Linked DNA regions of Homo sapiens: all the other regions are linked to region 2. Evidence: promoter capture Hi-C in human tissues and cell types (Jung and others, 2019). All regions are on one chromosome and are shown on one strand. The core of a region is centred on a gene start or on the middle of the fragment in contact, and the rest is flanking DNA. Distances in the headings are between cores, read along the strand shown.

What was found. The method cuts DNA at HindIII sites, captures the fragments that hold promoters and counts their contacts. A contact is called where the count stands out against the background at its distance.
Region 1: a contact is called between the fragment with the promoter of TSR3 here and the fragment with the promoter of HS3ST6 in region 2, in 1 of the 25 tissues and cell types used here (spleen).
Region 3: a contact is called between the fragment with the promoter of UBE2I here and the fragment with the promoter of HS3ST6 in region 2, in 1 of the 25 tissues and cell types used here (dorsolateral prefrontal cortex).

What each region holds. Positions count from the first base shown.
Region 1 is chr16:1,350,526-1,353,653 of GRCh38, reverse strand. TSR3 (TSR3 ribosome maturation factor) reads left to right here and starts at 1,776. Exons shown (of 6, transcript NM_001001410.3): 1 at 1,776-1,961; 2 at 2,056-2,275; 3 at 2,654-2,847. The coding sequence starts at 1,850. GNPTG (N-acetylglucosamine-1-phosphate transferase subunit gamma) reads right to left here and starts at 1,723. Exons shown (of 11, transcript NM_032520.5): 1 at 1,637-1,723; 2 at 1,495-1,552; 3 at 1,348-1,415. The coding sequence starts at 1,688. RefSeq lists a silencer at 1,499-2,198. The HindIII fragment of the contact is 21,021 bases long and covers 1-3,128 here.
Region 2 is chr16:1,917,025-1,919,724 of GRCh38, reverse strand. HS3ST6 (heparan sulfate-glucosamine 3-sulfotransferase 6) reads left to right here and starts at 1,310. Exons shown (of 2, transcript NM_001009606.4): 1 at 1,310-1,814. The coding sequence starts at 1,402. RefSeq lists enhancers at 1-91, 92-655, 656-1,217. The HindIII fragment of the contact is 13,256 bases long and covers 1-2,700 here.
Region 3 is chr16:1,308,262-1,310,961 of GRCh38, reverse strand. It overlaps UBE2I (ubiquitin conjugating enzyme E2 I), which reads right to left and starts at 1,326. Exons shown (of 7, transcript NM_003345.5): 1 at 1,189-1,326. RefSeq lists enhancers at 205-816, 1,518-1,757 and silencers at 788-977, 1,178-1,477, 1,968-2,257. The HindIII fragment of the contact is 23,762 bases long and covers 1-2,700 here.

The DNA of each region.
Region 1 (3,128 bases), core at 527-3,026, 570 kb after region 2:
TACTCAGGAAGCTGAGGTTGGTGGATTGCTTCAGCCCAGGAGTTCAAGGATGCAGTGAGCTATGATTGCACTACTGCACTCCAGCCCGAGTGAGAGAGCAAGACCCCGTCTCTAAAAAATAAAAAAAGCGATCCCCCAAACAATACTCTAACACACATACACACACTCCCTCCTCTGCTTCACACATCTACATGGCATTTTTCATCATTGGCCATTCTATGTATTTTATCTAATTCTACAGGCTCAGTGCCTGTTCCTCCATCCCTCCCCATTAGACTGTCAGCTCCATGAGGACAAGCATTGGTATATCTGTGTTCGTTTCTGCAACCCCAGCACAGACCCTAACACATAAAGGTATTCGATAATAAAATTACTAAAGCTGGGCGCGGTGGCTCACGCCTATAATCCCAGCACTTTTGGAGGCCGAGATGGGCGGATCACTTGAGGTCAGGAGTTCGAGACCCGCCTGGTCAATACGGTGAAATAAACCCTATCTCTACTAAAAATACAAAAATTTGCTGGGCGTGATGGTGATGCATGCCTGTGATCCCAGCTACTCGGGAGGCTGAGGCATGAGGATCGCTTGAACCTGGGAGGCGGAGGTTGCAGTGAGCCGAGATCGTGCCACTGCACTCCAGCCTGGGCGACAGAGCGAGACTCTTGTCTCAAAAAAAAAAAAAAAAAAATTCTTGGATTTTTGTCTATTATATTTAATACTCATTCAGCGTTTAAATGATATATATACTCATGACCCACCAATTCCACTTCTGGAATCCTGCACTGGGAAACCGCTCACCTGAGGGCAAACCAAAGCACCTACACAGCATGTTCTCCACAGAACTATTTCTAATGGCCAAAAAAATGGCAAGAACCTAAATACAATCGGGGAGTGCAGTGCCATCCTATCGCGTGCTGAGCACCAAGAGAAAGAACGAAGACCTATATCATCACCATGAAGCGTCCCGAGAGATACAGCGAGTGACAACGACAAATCAGCCAAATACTCGCGCAGCATGATTTTTTAAAAAAGCGATTAGATTACAAAAACTATACGTTTTCCAGTTGCATAGACACGCACGTAAAAGCACAGAAACGCGTCTGCAAAGTCACCAGACTATTAACAGCAGTTACCTCTCGGAAAGGAAAGGAAGGACTAAGTCTGGAGATAATTTAATTCGCTACAAGAACGTTCTGGTATATTCTCTCGTACTTCCACATTAATTTTAGAAGGCTGACAAACCAATGCTTTAGACTCCGGGCCGTAACTCTCAGGGTCACTCATCCATCCTCCACTGTTGCTGCTCCCCGCGGCCACCCCCGCGCCGGCCAACAGCGCTCCTCACTCACCAGACACGGGTGAAGGATCCCTCTTGGCCTGGAGGCGACTGGCCTGAGGCAAGAACGGGTTGTTCACCCTACGGGAAGCGGCAAGGTCAGCGGGGAACGGGCCCGGGCCGTCCCCCGCTCGAGCCGCCAGCCCGCGAGGCTGCTCACCCAAACGCGTTGGGCTCCTCCACCACCTTCATCTTCGCTGCACCTGCCGGCGCGGGCCCTACGGGGAGCGAGACCGTGAGCGGGGAGGCCGGGGTGCAGAGCGCGCGCGGGGCCTGGGGACGCGGACGGCCGGGCCACTCACCGCCGGCCGAGAGCCCGAGGAGCAACAGGAGCCGCGCCAGCCCCGCCGCCATCGCGCCGCAGCGGCCGCCGCGCGGTCACGTGAAGTGACGGTCACGTGACCACGGGGACCGGAAGTGGCGTCCGGCGCAAGCGCTGGCAGCCGCACAGCCCATTGGGAGGCCGAGGGGCGCGGCCGTGGGGTGGGGAGTCCCCGGCACCCCAGGTCCGCGCCATGGGCCGCAGGAGGGCAGCGCGCGGGCCGGGGGCGGAAGGCGGCCGCCCTCGGCACCTCCCGACGCGCTCCCTGGAGGCCTTCGCCGAGGAGGTCGGCGCCGCGCTGCAGGGTGAGCGAGGCGTGATGGGGAGAGCGGGTCAGGGTTTGAGGGCCTGCCCGGGGGTCCCACGCTGAGGCCGAGTGCCCTTCTCTCTCTCGTGCAGCTTCCGTGGAGCCAGGGGCGGCTGACGGCGAGGGCGGCCCGGGCCCGGCGGCGCTGCCCTGCACGCTGGCCATGTGGGAGTTGGGCCACTGCGACCCCCGGCGCTGCACGGGCCGCAAGCTGGCCCGCCTGGGGCTGGTGCGCTGCCTGCGCCTGGGCCACAGATTCGGCGGTCTGGTGCTGAGCCCCGTGGGCAAGCAGTACGCGTCCCCCGCAGACAGGTAGGCGCGGGAGGCCTGCCCGAGGTCGTCTTCATTTCCAGCGCGTGGTTCCCTTCAGGGATGGTTTAGTGGCACTTGTATGTCGCACCCACATCCACACCCACGTGGGCAGGGAACGTCTGTCTAGTTTGCCTCCGTTGCGTAGCGCAGAGCCTGGGATAAAGGAGGTTTTGGGGTAATAAACGTTTGTTGAGTGAATAAACACATGCTCCAGGTGCCCCAAGCAGCTGCCTCAAAAGCTTGCTCGTGAAGTCCGTTTGAGGGTGTTTGGGGATGGCGGAATGATGTCCCTGAATCCCTTAGCTAGGCCATTCTCCGGGGCATGCTCCACCTTGGGTAGTGCTGGCTCCTGAACTTATCCCATGCTGTCCCTGGCAGACAGCTGGTGGCGCAGTCTGGGGTCGCCGTCATCGACTGCTCCTGGGCCAGGCTGGACGAGACACCGTTTGGGAAGATGCGAGGGAGCCACTTGCGCCTGTTGCCCTACCTGGTGGCCGCCAACCCCGTGAACTATGGCCGGCCCTACAGACTTTCCTGCGTGGAAGCGTTTGCTGCCACCTTCTGCATCGTAGGTGAGTCCAGGGGCCCCACAGCAGTGTGACCCGGCGGCCTGCTGTTCCTGCTATGCTCCCAGCATCATGTTTCCTGCCGACAGACCCCAGGAGGAGCATAAGGGACGGACAGGGGAACAGTTCAGACAGACCACGGTTCCAGCCCCAACTGTCACTTCAGGTTTTCGGCCTGTGGAGTTGCAGTAGAGGCAGAATGGGATCGCTGTTCTATCAGGGCCGGTGTGTGGGGTGCCATTCATTATCAGGGCACCACTGCCCAGAGAATCCTCCTTATCCTCCAC
Region 2 (2,700 bases), core at 61-2,560:
GGGTAGGAGCTCCGGAATGTCTGTGGGTCGTGGAGGCCTTCGGCCCCTTGAGGCAGCCCGGCTGCTGGGACTTGTCCAGATGCCATCAGGGCTGGAACGGCTCATTAACGCAGCAGAGCCCAGGACAGGGGCCGCAAGCCCTTGGCTGGGAAGAGGCTGGGCCTCTGCCGGGAGCCTGTGCCGTGCCTGCCTGGCGCCAGCCCTGTGGCCAGGAAGGCTGGGGCAGAGGTGGAGAGAGGACCCGGGTCTCATACCACCTTTGCCTTCGGATGGGGCAAGTTGCTCGCCCTCTCTGAGCCCGGCTCGCCTCCCCTGCCTTCCCTGCAGGCTGCTGCTGGGCGTTGGGGATGTGAAGTTCCCGCAGTGTCTAGCGGCCCCCGCAGGTCCCACCCGAGAGGCCCCTGAATCTCACGCCCCTCAGAGGCAGCCCCTGGGGGAGGTCCTGGGCTCCTTCTCTTCCCCAGCACAGGGGTCCCTGAGTCCTTTGTACTCCAGTGGGGTCCACTTTGCCAGCTTCCGAAATGCATCACTGATGTCTCTGGGCAGTGCCAGGTGGACCAAGGCTGGGCAGATGGGGTGACTTAGTAGACAGAGTATGTCTCAGGCCTGAATTCAGTTCACCACTGGGCCCCTGGGAGGGAAACCTATTTTCTCTGAGCCTGTCCCCTCCATTCTAAAACAGTAACCAGAGGTGACTTGACCTCTCAGCGGCCAGGCTGTGACCCGATGTGTGACTGTCAGCTGGGAGTGCAGGACGCACGCCATTCCCGGCCGCAGACTCCCCCCACACGTTCTGGGATCCCTCTCTGCACACTAGGGTGCTGTCCCGGCCTCTTTCTCCCTTGGCAGGCCGAGTGCCCGGATCGACGCTTTTCCTGGGTCCCCTTGGCCTGGCGATGAGGCTCCCGCTCCTGCAGGCCAAGGCTTGGCCTATGCACCTGCCGCGCACGTCCCGGAGTGGGGTGGGGGGGGAAGGGGATCGGTCTTCAAACAGAGGGTCCCGAGGCCCGCGCGCCGCCCTGTCCCTGCCCTGCGTCCCGAACGGCCACCGCCGCCGCATCCTCCCCGCGCAGAGGTGAAGATGCCGGAGTCAAGCGAGCCAGGGCCTGGGATCTCGGAGCAGGAGCGTCCTGGTGGTCCCGGCAGCTCGAGTCGCGCCCGGGTGGTGGCGGCTGCCGGCGGGTCCAGCCCAGGCAGTGGCCTCGGAGGCGGAGTGGGCGGGGGAGGGGGAGGGGGGAGGGCGTCCAGACCCCGCCCCCGGTCCCGCCCCGCGCCCGCTCCCAGGCTGCGGGACCGCCGGGCGCAGAGCACAAGCCGGGCACCCACGGACTGAGCGGCGCGCGGGCCGAGATGCGCGCCCGCCTGCTGCCCCCGCTCCCGGGCCTGGAGCGGCGCGACCCCATGGCAGGTAGCGGCGGCCTGGGCGGCGGGGCCGGGGGCGGCCAGGGCGCAGGGGCCGGGCAAGGGGCCGCTCTGCGGGCGTCCCGCGCGCCGATGCTGCTCGTGGCCCTGGTGCTCGGCGCCTACTGCCTCTGCGCCCTCCCCGGCCGCTGCCCGCCGGCCGCCCGCGCCCCCGCGCCGGCCCCCGCGCCCTCCGAGCCGTCCAGCTCCGTCCACCGCCCGGGAGCACCCGGCCTGCCTTTGGCCAGCGGTCCCGGCCGCCGGCGCTTCCCGCAAGCGCTCATCGTTGGCGTGAAGAAGGGCGGCACGCGCGCCCTGCTGGAGTTTCTGCGGCTGCACCCCGACGTCCGCGCGCTGGGCTCTGAGCCCCACTTCTTCGACAGGTGCTACGAGCGCGGCCTCGCCTGGTACCGGTGAGCACCCTGGCCCGTCCGCCCTGACCGGCGCCTTCCTGGGGAGGGTATCGTGCGCCCCAGGGAGCAGCGGCACGATATCCTGCCTCCCAGGGAGCAGGGGTGCGCTCCGGGCAGTGGGGTTGGGACCGCCCTGTGGGGGCCCCAGGCTTGACCTGGGGTCCCGGCTCCGGAAGAAGGAATGATACTTGGCTAGGATTCCCTGAAACTTTGAAAACTGTGGGGAAAGCCCCGGTTCCGTTCTCTCTGCTGAGGGACCCAGCAGGACTGGGGGAGGCGGTGGCTTCCCAGCCCAGAGGTCGTTTCCAGCCCGTGGGATTACCTGGCAGCGTCAGAAATGCCTCTGCCGCCCGCTCACTCTGGGCACTCAGGTGTGACCGACCGCTGGCCAGGTACTGTAGAAAGGGGCCTCCAGGTTCCAGGCAGCCACCTAGAAAGCGTCCTTCCTCCCCAAGACCCCCGAGTCTGCGCACAGGAACCCTTGTTGGTGGTCCTGGGAGTCCGGAGAAAGTCTGGGCTTTGGAAAGGAGGAGACTGCCTTTAGGTGAGTGCCCAGGGTGAGTCCAGCCCCGTGCATGGGGCTCTGTGGCTGTCCTGCCTCTACCCAGGATGGACGTGGGGGTGCGGCAGCCTCAGCTGAAGCAGCCCGCGCTGGTGGCTGCTCATCCCCAAGCTTGGACCCAGCGCCTGCAGAGAGGACCCTGCCCAAGGCCAGTTGGGGAGTCAGTGGGGGTGGCAGGACCCAGACGCTTCTCCAGGTGCTCCAGTTTCTCCGTTCCCGATCCTCTGATCCTCTTCCTTCCCTGACGCCTACCCCTATTTGTTAACTTTGCCTTTTGTACTAAAACTACTCTTGGGTTTGGAGGGCAGGCAGGAAGGGGCTCCG
Region 3 (2,700 bases), core at 77-2,576, 610 kb after region 2:
ACTCACCTCCCACAACTCCACCGCACTGATCTCCACAACGGGTGGTCGCCACGACAGGCTGGCACAAGAAGCCTTTAAAGGCCCTCCTGCACCCAAATGCAAACTCTCCCAGGCTTGGGGAGGTATTCCCTTCTGCAAGACCCAAGCACCTGCAGTCGGGAGACGCTTACCTGGCCGCACCTGATCTGCCCCAGGCCCCGAGAATGTTTCTGAAGCAAGATCCCAAACCCTGAGACACCATACAAGCGCACACCAGCAATCACCCAGTGGCCTAGGGAACGGACCTCTCTGAATGAGCAATCAGGGCAAACTGAGGATCCGTCCCGTCTTCCGTTGCATAGGTTCTCTACCCAAAGGCAACGTTTCTTGAAGAGCAAGAAACACTTGGGGTAGGTCCTGTAAAAGGAAACAAACCGAACTCCCCAAAGACAGGCACTTTGCAAACAGAGAAACTAAGCGTAACTTCCAATTATACAAACAAAACCACTTCATTCTGCGATTCAAGCGTGACTACAGGCCACGATCACAAGCCCAACTAATCATTCCCTTACATTCCTCCTACGCACGTTAACTACCAGAACCAACTACTATTCAACCGATAAAAAGAGATGTCCAAAACAGAATAAAACTCCCCCTCCAGCGAGGCGCTCACGTTCAGGGCCCCAGCAAGCGCCAGCGGAGCATCTTCAGAGGCACAAGAAAACTTACACTTGTTTTGGTTTTAAGGCACCGAAAACAAGCCCGCTCGCCGGCCCCCACCCCCGCGAGCCAGCGATGTTGCAATCCAAGACTCTCCCCCCGCGGCCCATCCTATCCGTCCGCGGGGCGACCGTGACCCCGGAAGCCGCTCCCCGCGCAGGAGGAAGGCGCGGCCTCGCGGGGCCCCGGCTGCAGGTGGCTGCCCCGGCCCCGCGCCAGGCGCACCTCGGGGGCGAAGTGGGGGAGCCCCGGCCCCGAAGGCCTGCGGCGGCCCGGCCGCTCGGGCCGCAGCCCAGCGGCGCCAGCAGCGCGGACCGAGCCGGCGCCGAGCGCGGGGCCTCTCGGGCTCCCCGGAAAGCTCGGCCGCGGCGCGGGGCCCGGCTCGGCGGGGCGGGGCGCGGGGCAGTCGGGGGCCCGGGCCCAACAGGAGTAGAGGCCTCGGCCCGACCCCCGCCCCGCGGCCCCGGCCCGGCCCCCGCACGCGCTCACCTCGGGCGGCCGCAGCCCCGGCGAGCGTAGCGGACAGGTGGAGGACCGAGCGGGGCGGCGGCGGCGGCGCTTCCCTTTGTCTCGGGACTTCCCTCCGGAGCCCGCTCCGCGCGCAGCCAGAGCAGCTCCGAGGACCCTGGCGCGGGCGGGGCGCGCGGGGCGGGGCCTAACGCGGGGCTGCCCTCTGCACGCCTGCCTCGCGCGCCGCTCCTGCCGCCCGGCCCCGAGCGCCTCCCGCGCCGCCGAGCGCTCCCCGTTGCCCGCGCCCCGCCGCCGCGCGCCCGCGCCCCGGGTCCGCCCCAGGAGCCCGGCCGGGGGGCGACTTTCCAGTCAGGCGGCGCCCTGGACACCTACGCCCTTAAAGGAGCCGCGTCCCCGATGTGAGGGAGCGTCTGTAAACTCCCCTTCGGGCTGCCCGCGTCCACCCGAGGACACGCCGGCAAGCAGCGGGGGAAAAAGGAAGCCGAGATCTCCAAAGGCTCCCCGGATGCCTGGCGGTCACCTCTCCAGCCACAGGTCCCGGAGGTTTCCTTGGGGTCAGGTCCTGGGGCCGGGGGTCAAAGACCACTGAGGCCTAAGGATCCTCTGAAGCGTCGCAGGACGGTGACGCTCCCGCGAGTTCAGCGCCCTGTGAAACCCCTTGCAATTGGCCAGTTCGGGGCGGTAGGCGGGGACACCTTCTCATCCGCCCAATGAGCTGACCCCGTACAAAAGGCCGAATGCGAGCATGACCGACGGGAGGAGAAGTGTGGATGCTCCCTAAACCGGGGGCTGGCCCTGGGCCGGGGCGCGGGCGGGACGTGGGGGACCGCGAGCGGCGGGGGCGGGGCGAGCCCGTGGGGGAGGGGCGCTTCCGGTCCCCCCTCCCGCCCACGCAACAAGCAGGACCGGGTCGGGAGGCCCCCAGACCCGCGAGCGCGCGGGACAGTCCGTTCGCCAACGCGCGACCGTGCTGGCCCCCGGGCTCTCCCGGCCCCCCCGCCCGCATTTCGCCGACGGCGGGGCCGCAGCCAAGGTCACGGTGTCCGGGTGCTTGGGGACCGCGGGGAGTGACCACATTCATTCATTCCCTCCCTCACTCATTCATTCATTCCCTCCCCTACTCCGTCATTCCCTCCCTCACTCACTAATTCCCTCCCTCCCTCACTAATTCCCTCCCTCCCTCATTCATTCGATCCCTCCATCACTCAATCATTCCTTCCCTCTCTCACGCATTCCCTCCCTCACTTACTCATTCATTGCCACCCTCACTCACTCATTCCCTCCCTCACTTACTCATTCATTCCCACTCACTCATTCCCTCCCTCACTCACTCATTCCCTCCCTCACTCATTCCCTCCCTCACTCACTCATTCCCTCCCTCACTCATTCCCTCCCTCACTCATTCATTCCCTCCCTCACTCACTCATTCTCACTCTCACTCATTCCCGCCCTCATTCATTCATTCCCGCCCTCATTCATTCATTCCCACCCTCATTCATTCCTTCCCTCCCTCACTCATTCCCTCTCTCA